Linked DNA regions of Homo sapiens: regions 1 and 2 are each linked to region 3. Evidence: promoter capture Hi-C in human tissues and cell types (Jung and others, 2019). All regions are on one chromosome and are shown on one strand. Each heading gives the region's core, a stretch centred on a gene start or on the middle of the fragment in contact. The rest is flanking DNA. Distances are from core to core; before and after follow the strand shown.

Region 1 (5,002 bases), core at 1,931-4,430, 560 kb before region 3:
TTGAAATAATATCCTAAGGGAATAATTACCTTTGAATTCTGATGTGGGCTTCTCTCCTCTCTCACTGGGAAAGAGACTCTAGCAACTGACGAAGGTGAGGAAGATTTAATCACACATTCCTACTCCATTGAGAGCTGCTGCTTCTTGTGTTTTTTTTTTTTTTTCTCTGTGCTTACCGCTTATTTCTTCCACACACCTACTTCAGGCATAGCCAAGAGTAAAGGATAGTGGTGCTGGATGTGGGCCCCATTAGGGAAGATTTAGGCTTTATCCTTTGTTTGTGTTCTCCACTTGTGATTTGTATTAAATTCACTTTGGGACACATACCACAAGGTACAAGAGGGCTTTTTGATTGAAAAGTGAAAGGAGCCTATTAGAAATGTGAAATCATAATTTCTGGAGGTTTGGGGATTTAAAAAAATGTGGACAGCTGCTGGCTAAAGAACTGAGAAACGTTTAAGTCAGAAAAATATTCTAGGCAACGGAGCCAGAGAACCTAAATCAGTGGCAAATACTGCTAAGCCATCATTACATACTAAATAGTTATTAGTCATCTCTTCGTTTTAAACAGAAAGCTTAAGGGTCTGAAGTCCAAAGCTTAGACTCCATTCTTTCTAACAAATCAAAAATCCCATCCCTTCCAATAACAGAAATCTGCCAAGAGAACATTAAAGGTCACGCTAAACCCACAAATGCAAAGCAATGCAGATTTCAAAGACCTCGAGTGGAAAAATACAATTAAAAGTCACCAGCTCATTCTGAGCAGAAGAAAAGCCCGAGAGCTTGATTTAAGGTCAGGAACTCAAGGAGCATTAAAGAAGAGAAGCAGGAACCATAAGCCAAGTCATAAGCAAAGTGGCCTGGAAACCCTCAAGCCTGGTGTGAGCCTTCCGCTTTCGGCCCCCCTCGTGGGTGAGTGGGTCACAGCGGGGTTGGGATGCTGAGTTATCCCGTGGGGCCTATAATGGAAACTACATGTGAGGACCTGGCCTCCAGCGGATGGGCCTGGGCTGCTGGCTCTCACCCAGCTCCGCAGCGATTTTCCTGTATTACCCTAAACAAGTCATTCACCCTGCCCAACCCTATTTTTGCCTAATTACAAAATAATTTCTTTTAATGAGGCCAAGCTTACTAGTAAGCCTGTATTCCGTGGTCTGAGGGTTGCTAAGACGGCACCACTGGGACTTTAGGCCCAGCTCCATGATATTTACATCTCCCCACTCTACTTTGCACCAGTACCTGAAACACCACCATTCCTGTGTATATTTAATCTACAAGCATGCTTTGTGTGCCTGCTTTATGCCAGACACTGTACTAGGAATTAAGTATACAGGGGTGAGTAAAACAAGCATAGACCCCATGCAGAATATAGCTGGCAGAAACCCACTAAATAGGTAAATACATGTGTGTATATATATATATATATATATATATATATACACACACACACACATATATATAGATATATATACACATATATATATACACACACACAGACATGCACTGTAAGGTTAGTGAACAAAGCACTCTAAGAAATGAGAAGTCTGAGTCTTAATTAAGGTCATTAGAAAAGCCACCAAAAAGATAATCTTTAAGCAGAGATCTGGAAAGATCCAGGAACATAGTATTCTAAGCTGGAAACTAGCATGTGCTACCCTCTAGGCTAGATGGGAGCTTGATGGAGTCTAGAAATTGAAAAGGAGCTCATTGTAGCTGGGACACAGTACATGAGATGGAAAGAGACTGAGATCAGGTGAGAGCTGCTTGAGCAGAGATCACATGGGGCTTGGTAGGCCCCGAAAAGGAATCTGGATATTGATTCACCCCCAATATGAAGCCATTAAAGAATCTAAGCAACACTCTTCTCTCACTATTAAAATTACTCTGGCTTCAGTGAGGTAGATAGAATGGTGGAAGGCAAAAGAGGAAACAAGAAACACAGGTAAAATATTTTGCTCCCCTCCCTAGATTATAAGCTCCATGAAGGCAAAGAGTTGCATCAGTTTTATTCAAAATATCTCTGTGGTTCTTAAAACAAAGATGTCCCAAGAAATTAGCAAGTTCTGATGGTGAATAAAGGCAAAGCCTTACTTAGGATCAATAAGAAAAGTACTCTATGTGGCACTGAAAAGACATTCTATCAATAAATATTTACTGATGAAAAAAGAATGAGTAAAGATAACTGTACTCCAGAAGAAAATATTACAGTAGCTTGGATATACTGGTAAAGTGGAGAGTGCAGGATAAGTAGGCAGATTTGAGATCTATTTTGGAGGCAAATATAAAGGACTTACAGAGCAAATGGATGCAAAGACGGAGAGAGAAGGACAAATGAAGATCAATACCCTCATTTCTGGCTTGAGCAACAAGGTAATTGGCAAAGGCATTTCCTGGGAAAAGAAAACTTCCTGGGGGACAGGTGGGTTCGACTATTGGTCTATATCTAGAATCACAATGACTCAGCCTCTACAGACCTGTGTATGTCAGAATAAATGTGTACTGTTACTAAATTTGGGGGCAGTTTATCATGAAGCCTTACCATGGCCATAGCTGACTTCTGTGGTTTGGATAACTGATCATTCCAAATATGATGTTGAAATGTAATCCCCAGTGTAGCAGTGTTGGGAGGTGGGCCCAGTGGGAGATGTGTGGGCCACCGGGGCAAATTTCAAATGAATGGCTTGATGCCATCCTTACATTAATGAATGAATTATTGCTCTATTAGTTCCTACAATAGCTGGTTGTTAAAAAGAGCCTGGAATCTCCCTGTTTGCTCTCTTGCTTCCTCCCCCACAGTGTTATATCTGCACGCAAAGGCTCCCCTTCAACTTCTGCCATCAGTGCAAACAGAGGCCTCACCAGAAACAGATGCAGGTGCCATGCTTCTTGTACAGTCTGCAGAACCATAAGCCAAATAAACCTCCTTTTTCTTATAAATTACTCAGCCTCAGGCATTCCTTTAGAGCAACACTAAATGAAGTGAGACACTAACTGAAGCAGGAATCAAAAGATTCAAAAGAAAATCATAAGTCCAATATCCAAATGTCAAATTTAGGAGAACTGTGAAACACCCAAGTGAGGATATCAAGTAAGCAATTGGATACACAATTCCATAAATGTACATGTATTGAGGGCTCAACTAAAAATAAACTTCTGGAGTTACCAGCGCATAAAGATTATACTTAAAACCAAGAGTACCAGTGAAATCAACTAGGAAGAGGACACAGAAATATACAAAAGTGTCTCTATCCCAATCATGAAATTCTTCAACTTTTACAGGTTATGAGAAAGAAATTTTGAAGACAAAGAAGGATGAATCAGAAATGAGGCAAGAAAACAGAAAGACATGGGAGCATAGCATCCAAGAAAGGAGATTTTTAAAAAATACATAGCAAATACTCAACTGGGTGAAACACTGATTGAAGACTCTATTAGTTTTCTACTGCTATAACAAATTACCATGAACTTAGGGCCTTAAAACTACAAGAATGTATTTTACAGTTTTGGAGATCATAAGTCTGAAATAAGCCTCAATAAACTAAAGTATCAACAAGTATGTGTTTCTTCTGGAAACTTTAAGGGAATGTCAGTTTTCTAATTTTTCTCAGCTTCCAGAAACCACCCTCATTTCTTGCCTCATGGTCCCTTCTTAAATCTTCAAAGCCAACAGTGTAACAATTTGAAATCTCTCTTGGGCATTGACATGGTTTGGCTCTGTGTCCCCATCCAAATCTCATCTTGTAGCTCCCATAATTTCCATGTGTTATGGGAGGGAACCAGTGGGAGATAACTGAATCATGGGTGTGGAACTTTCCCATGATGTTCTCGCGATAGTGAATAAGTCTCATGAGATCTGATGGTTTTAAAAATGGGAGTTTCACTGCACAGGCTCTCTCTTCGCCTACTGCCATCCATGTAAGACATGACTTGCTCCTCCTTTCCTTTCACCATGATTGTGAGGCTTCCCCAGCCACATGAAACTGTAAGTCCATTAAACCTCTTTCTTTTGTAACTTGCCTAGTCTCAGGTATATCTACAGACTAATACAGGCATCAACACTGACTTTCCTACCTCTCTTTTTCACATGTAGGGATACTTGTGATTATACTGGGCCCACCAGGATACCCCAGGAAAATCTCCCTATCTCAAGGTCAGCAGATTAGCAATCTCAATTCTGTCTGCACCCTTAATTTCCACCTTGCCCCATGCAACATGACATATTCACAAGAGATTAGAAAGCAGCCATCTTTGGGAGACCATTATTCTGCCTACCACTGACACCAAATAAGATGAGCTTTGCTTTTGGGGAAAATGGATAGATGTTTTAGGGAAAAGTTAAGGCTCCTAGTGTGTTAGTTCCACAGAATATTAAGAGAAGAGCTCAGGCTAACTTTCGGCTCTATATAACTGTGTTTTCTTTTCGCAGATCCAACCAATTCAATTCTCCCACACCAGTTGGGTATTGTATCATCAAATTTAATTCTGACACTAACTACCCAAAGTTAGCACAGACCCCACAAGTTAAGGACTCGGTCTCACAAGACTGTCCCTACTTCAGAGCCAGGTGCAAGTGATGTCCCCAGGTTACCCACACTTCTGCTCAATCAACTACAAATTTGTGAGTGTCTGCAATGCACCCTCAAGTTTTACCATTCTCTAGAACAACTTACACAACTCAGAAAAGTGCTTTACTTACTATTACCATTTATTTTGAAGGACACACATGAACAGCTAAGATAAAGAGGCACAGGAGTCATGGTTCAGAAGGGTTCTGAGTGCAAGAACATCTGTCCCTGCAGAATCAGGGAGAGTTACCCTCCCAGTATATCAACAACCAGAAAGCCCTTGAACTCTGTTGTTTTCATAAAGGTTTCATTAAAGTGGGTAGGATTGATTAAATCATTACTATTGTTGATTAAACTCAATCTCCAGTCCCTCATTTGGGGAGTAGGGCTGAAAGTCCTAACCGTCTAATCACATGGTTGATTTTCCTGGCAATCAA
Region 2 (5,002 bases), core at 1,416-3,915, 580 kb before region 3:
CACCCTGTTATTTTAGATTGGTTCTTTTAGGGCTAATTTCCTCCATCATGTGCTGACTTTGTAGTTGAGCCTTCAGAAGGTAATCTTGTGTTCCTTGTTCCCAAGTCCTTAGAAGACAACTTGCTATAGCCTTGAGGATGGAAAATAAGTGTAATAAACTTGGCACCTAGTTGATGTTCAATAAATGTTAATTCCCTCTTTTACCTTGGGGTATAGAAGACCTTTGCAATCTATTTATGAACAAGTATTTAATAAGGGTTGGCAGAGAGTAGTGAGTTAATAACAGCGGCTGCTATGTAAAACGTATTGGCAAAGTGAGTTGAGAACTTTTATGCATTTTTTGTAGAACACTAATAATGTGTATATAACTTGGTTTGATTGAGAGGAATGAAATGATATTGATTATAATGGCAGCATATCTATGCAAAAGGCTTTAGATTCCAAACTTATCTGGAATCTAAACTCTTGAGTTAGTACGAACCTATGGAAATAAAGACTTGTTAAAACTACTCACATCACCAATATAATATATTCCTATCATATATTTACCTTTACATTTGTAAAATCCTTGAAGTGAGAAACTGTGTTTATTCCTAGTATTCAGCAGTGCCTGCTACACAGTGATATTGAATAGGTGTTTCTGAAGTGTGTGTTGAATGCACAACTGATCTCTCCATTTAAAAAAATCACCTTGTCAATGGAACAATGATATCCACTTTATTACTATGTAAATATTCATCCCTCTTGCTGCATTTCTTTCTAGTGGCCATTATTTATCATCTTGCAGTTTGAATCTTTTGTAAAATAATGAGGAAATAAGATGTGCTTGGCATGGGTAGAGGTTTATCTTTTGGGTTGAGGTTTTTTAATTTGTTTTATTTGGGGAGATCTATTTGAGATTTTAATACTAAAATATTTTCTAATTTTTGAAACAACCCCAGCAAAGATAGTATACAAAACACAAAATAAGTGTAGACATTTGTCTAAGATAAAATTCTACTGAATTCAGGGAATCTCTGCTTCACTCATTGTGCATGCTGATGCTGCCTGAACTTCATCCATGTTCACTGAAGAGAAAGGTCAGGGTCTTCCCATGAGTGATGGAGCAGTGCTAAGCAGCCAGCACAGAAAGGAAAACAGAAAAACAAACATCAGGTTCCCGGAAGAGTGAAAGGAAAACAAGTGTGTATTGAATGTCTACTTTATGTCAGGGGTTGCCCGCAGGATGCTTTTCTGTGACTTGATTCAATCCTATAAGAAAGGGATTTATAATTTTCATTCTAGAGAAATATAAACTGCTTTAGTTAAAGTCACATAGCTACTAAGTGGCTGAGATTTTTATTTGGTCTGTCTGGCTCCAAACCTCTATCTTTTTCTACTAAACCAGTATTTCCTATGTGTTTCTGATTCAAAAAATAACCTGAAGCACTTAATAAAAATATACATTTTCAGGCCTCTGTCTAAGAGATCTCATCTGGATAAGTCTGGGTTAAGTTTGTGAAATTTAAACAATCACACCAGGTGGTTTTTGTGAGCAAGCGAGGTCTGCATCCCCCGACTCACCATTCTACCTTCCAGAGATATCCAAAGTGTCAAAATATACAAGAGCTTCAAAATAGCCCAAAGAGAGACAAAGCGCTAAAAGACTTTAAATATCCCCATCATCATCTCCCTTCCCCTTCATCCTGCCATCTCTCCATTTCATTTTGTGAACAGTAGACATATATTCACAGCATGTACCCTCAGCTTAAAGCACCCGTTTCAACAGATTTATCCCACCAAGCCTCTCCTATACAAAAATGATGAAATCTACTCTGGAAAGAGCTCAGTCTTGGTTAATTTCATTCTAGAAAGTCTGGGCAAAAACACACACAAAAAAAAAACAAAAAAAAATAGTCAAATGATTTTCCAGATTAATATGGTTTGAATGGATCTGAAAGTTCTCTCTCCTAGCTCCCCTCTCCATTTCTCTTTTGAGTTCTCACTGTCTGTTTCTGCATCTCTGTTTCTCTATAAGTTGTATGCATATTCTAAAATACCTGCGTCTTGCCACTAAACTTTGTATGAGTCATCACTTATGAAGATGAGGCTTCTAGGATTCCCTCTCTATAAATAGATTATTTTTAAGGAGTCAATTCTTAAGCCAGTATTTGTAAAACATTTTCCTTGAAGTCTAATGACAGAAAAAAGTTACTTGTGCCCTTGGAAGTTGTGGAAACACAACCATAGCATCCTACAAAAAGCATGCAATTCATTTAAAGTTTTTTTTTAAATCTTAAAATTTCATGTGAATTTGTTTTTTAAATTATTGACATAATTTAAAATTTGTCCATATTGATTTTAATATAAGAATTTTATTTTTCAATATCTATGAATTAAATTAAATATGTGTATATGTATGGACATCTATGGATGTGTGTGTGTGTGTGTGTGTGTGTGTGTGTGTGTAGCTTTTCTGAAGCTTTGCCATCCCTGTGTACAGATGAAAATACATAGCATTCAATCACTACCATGCATTAACACTTCACCTTAAATAAGTTTACTTGATTAGTTAACTTTCCCAAAATAATGTGACCCAAGATGGAAATTTATTAAATAGGAAATGGAAGAGAAAAGGTCCAAGCAATGGTATGGATTTGCACATTCCCTGAGGCTGATTATCAAATGAAAGATACCTTATTGTTGACTAGTCAGTTTGAGTACAAATATTACTTTGAGTCAGATCCTGCTTCCAAGTCTCTCTCAACTTCAGAGTGAATAAGCCTGATTTATTTTCCAAATTGCATGTCACTTCCACATTCACTGTCATATGTGAGCTTTACTTTAACTTTATAGAACTAACAAGGCAGAAATTGTTCTCTGAATCTGACAGAGAAAAAAGAAGGAACAGCAAGATTATAAGACTTACCTAGAATCACACAGATCATTCTAGTTTCCATTTCTCCATATTTCTTCTATGACCTATCCAGTAATATCTCAGACATTTTCAGAAATATTAGACATATTCAGTAAGTTATGGCTGAACTGAATTTATTATTCCAACATAAGATTGGGAGTGCAAAGCTTAGATTTGCAGCTCAATTCTTTCACTCTTCTTAATCTGGTGTCATTATAAAAACATAAGTTGCATTGCAAAAAATGCTAGTAATTTGATAAATAATATTTATGCACCTCCTTGCAAACCAGCTTTCAGAGTAAAAATATAAAATTGTGCACTGCCCAACTAAAAAAACAAAACAAAAATCCCTCCTGTGTTATCACTGAGAAATCAAGAGACTATTTTTTAAGTTCCAAAGGGCTCAACAGAAGTCAATATTTGTAAATATTAACCTTGTGAGCAAGCAAGGTTTGAATCTCTTGCTGCACCATTTTTGAGTAGTCCAATCTGATAAGAAGAATTCAAATTGGATTGTGATCTGTTTAAATGAAACTCTCCATTTATATCAAATGTGCTCTTTAGTCAGAATAGGAGAGAGGGTAATAAAAAAAGAGTACAGTTCCGCTGAAAGAGGCCTTGACTCTTTATCATCCATCAGGCAAGGTGAAAAGCTCACTGAAAACTCCAGTGAGATTACATTTAACATAAACTTCCTGAGCTGAATTCCATTATTGCTAAAATAACTAGAAGGGAATCATTTAAATATTTTCCTGATGCCAGTATGGGGTCTTATTCAGCTTCTGACTAACAGCATTTTGAGAACAGTTCATCCTCCCTCAAAGTGTGGAGAATTGCTTAAGTTTTATATATAGAAAAAAAAAAACATTTTAAAAGTGTTATTTTAATCTGCCTGCTGATGAAAGTTATCCTGATAGAAGTGAACCACTGCTGCTTCAGACATCCAGCAATAGACATCAGTACTTCCAAGGAAGTTCATGTCATTGTTGGACATAAAATTATGTTGGAAAGATACAAGCCACAGTGAAGTGAAAAACTGTGAGAGCATACTGCAACCCCCAGCCAGAGAAAAGAAATGGGTGAGAAATTTCTCAGAGGCTTCTTGCAGTCAGGTTTGATAGGGTCGTGGCAAAAACTGTTAACAGTTCAAACATCTGCTAGAAATCTCATTCATTTAAGAGAAAAGCATGCAATGAATTCTTAATTCATTCACTGATAATTTTCACTTTCAGAATAGAGAGGAAAGGTCAGAATATTTGGGCATTATTCTTACAAAGTAATTACTGGTCTTGTGGAAATGATTTAAACTTGAAAAAAAGAGTGTATTATATTAAATTTCATGTATTTGAGACAATCAACATGGTGCAGAATTGGATAAAAGGCAACTCTCAAAAAGACAAGACCAAAAAAATAGTGCCATTTCGTGGTATTCATTTATTCGCTTATTCTATTACCTTATTACTATTTGATATTTATTGAACATGTACTGTATGCCAGGCTCTGTGAGGTCCCAGAGCATAAAGATAAATAATAAAGTCTCTGCCCAAAGGAGTTTGTAATATGGCAGACAACACAAGAAAAATGAATCAAGGATTCAGGCCAGTGATGATAAGTTTAAAAAGAAGGTTGTGATCTCTTGACTACTCTTCCTGTGTACATTACAGGATTTGGGTAAGAGTACTACATGCCACTCAGGGTCAAAGCAGAGGGAGAAAGGAAAATCATGGGCAAGTATCTTTATGGTGGTTTCCATGGGAAGAAACAGGGAATACAGAGTACACGGGCTCAGAATTAGCGAGTCTGAATACCTTCAGTAGGCTCTGAGGCATGGGGTCATCCCTGATTGTCTGGTACCTGGCCCTGGGGCGATTAGGCTGGTGGATAGTGTTCAGGCATGTGAAAGCCTGATAAGGAAGTGGTTGGGGGTATGGAGTTAATTAGCTGTTCAAGAAAAGAAACTGACCAGCCTCCAGCGGGGACTTCAAAACTAAATCAAGAAAGAATTTTATAAAACCATGTTACATTCATGCCATCTCAGAGCAGCATAGATAACTCATCATAAAGTGCATGCTGTGCTGCAGTTGCTTATTACGTCTCCTGTATTTT
Region 3 (4,981 bases), core at 1,479-3,978:
GGGTGCCTCTGTTCAAATTAGAAAAAGGCGCCCCCTCAGGGCAGACTCAGCCCAGCTGCCAGGGGACAAGTCCTGGCTAACGGGAGCTGGAGCTGGGTTTCACCTCCAGGTGCCTCCTTGGCGGGGCGCCCCGTGCAGGCTACAGCCTACAGCTGTCAGCGCCGGTCCGGAGCCGGAGCGCGGGAATCACTCGCTGCCTCAGCCCAAGCGGGTTCACTGGGTGCCTGCGGCAGCTGCGCAGGTGGAGAGCGCCCAGCCTGGGAGGCAGTAGTACGGGTAATAGTAGGAGGGCTGCAGTGGCAGAAGCGAGGGTGGCCGCAGCACTTCGCCGGGCAGGTATTGTCTCTGGTCGTCGCGCACCAGCACCTTTACGGCCACCTTCTTGGCGGCGGGCGCCGAGGCCAGCAGGTCGGCTGCCATCTGCCGGCGCTTTGTCTTGTAGCGACGGTTCTGGAACCAGATTTTCACCTGCGTCTCGGTGAGCTTCAGCGACGCGGCCAGGTCTGCGCGCTCGGGCCCGGACAGGTAGCGCTGGTGGTTAAAGCGGCGCTCCAGCTCGAAGACCTGCGCGTGGGAGAAAGCGGCCCGCGAGCGCTTCTTGCGTGGCTTGGGCGCCGCCGGCTCCTCCTCCTCCTCCGCGACGCCTGCCGGCCCGCTGCCGCCCCCGCCGCCGGCCCCGCTGCACAGCGCGGACACGTGTGCACCTCTGGGGCCAACACCGTCGTCCTCGGTCCTTGGGCTGCGGTCGCCTGCGGACCCCGGTGGGAACAGAAACAAGAGACTGTCAGCGCCACAGACGAGGTGAGGCCGGGCCTCAACTGCAGGGGTCACGGGAGTGGGGCGGAAATACACTTTGATCCCACTCAAGCGGAGCGGAGGTCTGGGAGGCCCTGGGCCCGGGAGACCAGTCTTAGACTCTTGCCCCACTGGGTATCCCATCTAGGCCTCTTCTGGGGAGGGCGGCAGACTCAGCCGCTGTGTCAACGCTGTGTTGTCGAGACCAGCTCCCCACCCTCTCTGGGCCCCAGGCTCCCCTCAGTAACTTGGGGCACTCGACCCGAGCATCCGCGAAAGCCCTCCCGGCTCTCAGCGTTGAGCATTGGGATTCTAGACTGCATTTCCGTCTCTCTGCTTGGGTTCACGCGCCTCTCCACACTTAGTTCACACGCACACACGCGCGCGTCCTCGCAGCACACACTTGTCTGGTGCAGGTAAGGGAAGGTGGAGGCGGATCCTGGGGCCAAAGGTATTTAGAATCTTTCACCCTCAGCCGCCTGGGATTGCTGTGAGAGACATGGAAACAGGCTGAGCCGAGGCCTTAGATGAGAGGATGGACTGGAGAGTAAAGAGGGAGGGTTGCCCCTGCATCGAGTTTTTGGACCCTGATCCCACACCAGCTTCTCGGTCTCGTACCCGCCCTTCCGAAGAACTCCAGCAGAAAGGTCCAGCGGTCCCCTGTGCTTGAGGCCTACAGAAGCTTGTACCCAACTAGGGCAGGCACCCGGGTCTTCCAGACCACAGGACAGGACAGGCCACGGCTGAGGAGGCCTCTCTCCTGCCTCCAGGATGAACTAAAGACCCAATCCGGGATCTTCGGCCTAGGGCTGCTCTCCCAGACCTGGGGTCTGAGAAAGCCAAACCAGCCCTTTCCCCAAAGCTCTAGTTCTGCAGATTCTCAGCTCTGGCCCACTCGGAGGTGTTCTTCACCACCTATCCACCTACTGTGGGGCCCGGCCCTGGGACCTTGAACTGGCAGGTCTCTGGTCCAGAGCTAGGTCACTGGCTACCTGAGGTCTCTGAACCCCTCACTTTTCCGCTTCCCTGATTTTGGGGATTTGGGGACAGACACGGCAGAAAGCACTGGCGACGAACTCAAAAACTCCCGAACGCAAGGGGCAGCGGTTCTCCCAACCCAGTCTAATGCACATTGGCCCAGGATGTCTCAGGCCTCACCCCAGGACGTAGGGCTCTGAGGAGCTACTCCGGTCTCTCGCGGGCTCAGTTCCCGAAGTGATAGAGCAGCTCGCGCCAGAGCGCAGAACTTCGGGATTTGGCCAGCCTCCGAGCCCCAGGGCGCAGGGTGCTCAAGCCGACCACCCCACTCGGCGTGGTTGCCCTCCGCGTCCATCCCCTCAGCCCGGCCCCCATCCCCGCGAAGCCGCAGCAGACCTGAGACGCTGGCGGACATCTCGCTGTCGCTCCGGCCCGCGGCTTCCTCCTCTAGGTCTTTGGAAGCGGCCAGCTCACAGACCGGCTGGCCGAGGCTCAAGGATCCCCCCGCAAGGCCGGCCCCGCTGGCCCCCCGCGCGTCCGCGCAGCGCCGCCTGCTCTCGTTCTCCTCGCTGAGCGCGGAGTCCGAGTCCCAGCCTTCCGGGCTCTCCGCAGTCCGCCCCGCAGCTGTTCTGGTACCGGCAGGAGACGCCAGCAGAGAGTCCTCGGCGCCCCCCAACGCGCCCGCGTCCCTCTCCCCAAAGAGCCGCCAACAGCAGACAGCGGGAGCCGCGGCCACCGATGCCGCTGTGCCCCCGGGCGCCGGGCGCCCCTCTGGCGCGGCCAGCCCGCCGCGCTCCTCTTTCTTGTTGAGGATCGCCTGGATGGAGAAGGACGTCAAGGTGTTGGCGCCGCGCACAGCCATCTGCGCCGCGGGCAGGAGCGGCCGGCGGGGCGGGCAGCTGGGGCGCCGAGCAGCTCCGAGCGGGACAGAGAGCGCCGGCGGCCGCAGCGCGAGTGAGCTGGGTGTGCGAGGCCGCCGCCGCCCACTGCTGCGCGGCCCAGCAGCTCCCGCCCCACTCCGTCCCAGGATCAGCGCCGACCCTCGCCCCCACCTTAGAGGCCCACCCCGCCCGGAGACCCCCTCCCCCCGAATCCAGAGCCAGACGCTCTCCTTTCGCAGCTCAGCTGGATTATCTCATCGCTTCTCGCCCTTAGGGGCGGGCTGGGGTCTGCCCCCTCGGGGGACGTGAAGGAGGATTGGCGGGGGCCCCTCCGTGGCAGCAGTCCCCTCCCGAGCGCCGCCGGGGCGCACAGCCCGAGTCACTTTTTCTTTGCGCGTCTGTCCCTTCCTCGCCTGCAGGATTTCGCTCCTGGCCCGTCCTCCCCTTCCCTGCTGGGCAGGCTCTTCCGGAGCCCACCCCCGGCGGCGGCGGCGGTAGCCGCGGCCGCGGCCGCTGGATTCCGAGAGGCGCGGGGAACTTTTTTACCCCCTGCCCTGGTTTTATCTGTTTCTTTTCTCTTTCCTTCCCTTGCGTTCCACTGTACCACCCCCCTCCCGCCCGGGTGTCATTCCTCACTGCTGAGTGACAGCCTGAGGCCACACCCCTCCACTGGGCTGTCCCGGGCGCTCCCGGCCGTCCATTGGCTGGCTCCAGTTGGGCGACGTTGACTTTAACAGACAAAACTGGGCACGTTGCGCCGCTAAAGACAGGGTCTGACTTAACCCCTTCTCTCCTAAGCCTGGTCCTCGAAGCACCCTCCAGCAACAAGGAGGCTCATCCGACCCAAACCACGTTTCTTACCTCTGCAGATGTATCCACTTATTCCAGCGCTTTAACAGAACACTGATACTAAGTTGAGTCAAATCTGCGGAGAAAATCCAAGATAATGCAGTTCCATAAATCATGCTCGTAGTTTCTGTTCTCTAGGAAGGATTATAAACACGAAGAACAAAATGCATCCTTTTTTTTCTCCCTACAGTTTCGCCGCTTCTTCATTGCTAATGCTCTTTGCTGAAATGATCAGTTAATTAAGATCACTCTAGAAATATTTTTCTTTCCTCGTCGTCTTTGATTTGATTCGATTTTTATAGAGGAATTATAAAAAAATGGTATAGTTAGAACTAAAGTCAGGAGAAGAATTGAAAGGCATCTTTGGGAGAATTTCTGTAAATTTTATGGTCGTTTCCCTGGCAGACCAATATTGAATTTAATTGGAGTTTGTTAAGTTTTGCATCAGGAAGAAAAAAAAAACTTTCAATTTGTTTTTTTTAAATATCTCTTACTTGTGAGTTGAATAAAATTATAAATAGATATGTTTGTTTGCTTAGAAGTATACCTAGGAATTACCATAAAGTGATCCAGAAGTGACAACACTTTTTGCTCTTTAAAAAATAAGAAATGCATTGTATTATGTAATAGTAGGAACCAAGCTAAGAAACACAAATATTGTGGGTATATAAAAACATTTTAAAATGTGTTATTCCTTTTTTAATATAAAATTTGCTCAATTAACGTACTTCACTGTTTTCCATAAACTTTACCAGAGAGTTAACACCAAATACACAAACTTGAACCATTAAATACATTTAAAGGACTATGATTTTAATTTATTAAATTGCTAGGATTGGTAGTTTTGGTGTCATTAAAATAAATAACATCTCCCCTTGTTGCTTTCTTTTTGGTTGTTCTTTTTCTGCACCGCAGAAGGAAATACACTGACTATTCATAGTTCTCAGTCTCAGAATGAGGTTTTGCAGCATCTATACTTTTCAGCATTTCGGTTACATGATGCTTTCTTGCTTTGTGCAAACCTTGTAGGGTACCTGGGAAAAAACATCCACTTGAGGTCATTGCCCTTTACAGCTCTTTACAATTACATCAGTTTTGAAGGAACGCCATTTAAATTTGGTGTCAGTGCTCAGCAAGTGTAAGGACGCAGAGTGGAACAGCAGAATGCTTACAGTCTTTCAAAAACAGTGTGTCCTCTCCTCCCCCGCTGTATTATTTAAATTACCGTTCTCCTCACTTCGGGCAGGGATGTTGGGAATTATGTATAGTGAGGAGATTGACACTGGTTGCCTGGAAGGTAGGGGACGGGCAGGTATGGGTTTGGTGTCCCGTACAGCGATCGCTTTGTGGGTTTAGTACTTGGTGCTGACAAATAATGGAGTGAGATCCGAACATAAAGGCAGGCAGAGATGTTTTGGGGCTGAATCACCGAATACTAGAGTAGGTTTGGGGCTACGTAAAGACTTGCTTGAAAACAA

The links. Contacts are between HindIII fragments. The study calls those that stand out against the background at their distance.
Region 1: a fragment that was not itself captured here is called in contact with the fragment with the promoter of NKX3-2 in region 3 in 1 of the 25 tissues and cell types used here (lymphoblastoid cells).
Region 2: a fragment that was not itself captured here is called in contact with the fragment with the promoter of NKX3-2 in region 3 in 2 of the 25 tissues and cell types used here (H1 embryonic stem cells and lymphoblastoid cells).

What each region holds. Positions count from the first base shown.
Region 1 is chr4:12,979,122-12,984,123 of GRCh38, forward strand. No RefSeq gene overlaps it. Among named protein-coding and RNA genes, the nearest start is that of RAB28, 500 kb to the right of the region's middle. The HindIII fragment of the contact is 7,964 bases long and covers 1-5,002 here.
Region 2 is chr4:12,960,768-12,965,769 of GRCh38, forward strand. LOC105374493 (a long non-coding RNA gene) reads right to left here. Exons shown (of 3, transcript XR_007058047.1): 1 at 2,909-5,002. Among named protein-coding and RNA genes, the nearest start is that of RAB28, 520 kb to the right of the region's middle. The HindIII fragment of the contact is 4,471 bases long and covers 431-4,901 here.
Region 3 is chr4:13,541,780-13,546,760 of GRCh38, forward strand. NKX3-2 (NK3 homeobox 2) reads right to left here and starts at 2,729. Exons shown (of 2, transcript NM_001189.4): 1 at 2,170-2,729; 2 at 1-749. The coding sequence starts at 2,635. The coding sequence ends at 214. It overlaps LINC01096 (long intergenic non-protein coding RNA 1096), which reads right to left. Exons shown (of 1, transcript NR_015450.1): 1 at 4,297-4,981. RefSeq lists a silencer at 525-654 and an enhancer at 4,855-4,981. The HindIII fragment of the contact is 14,287 bases long and covers 1-4,981 here.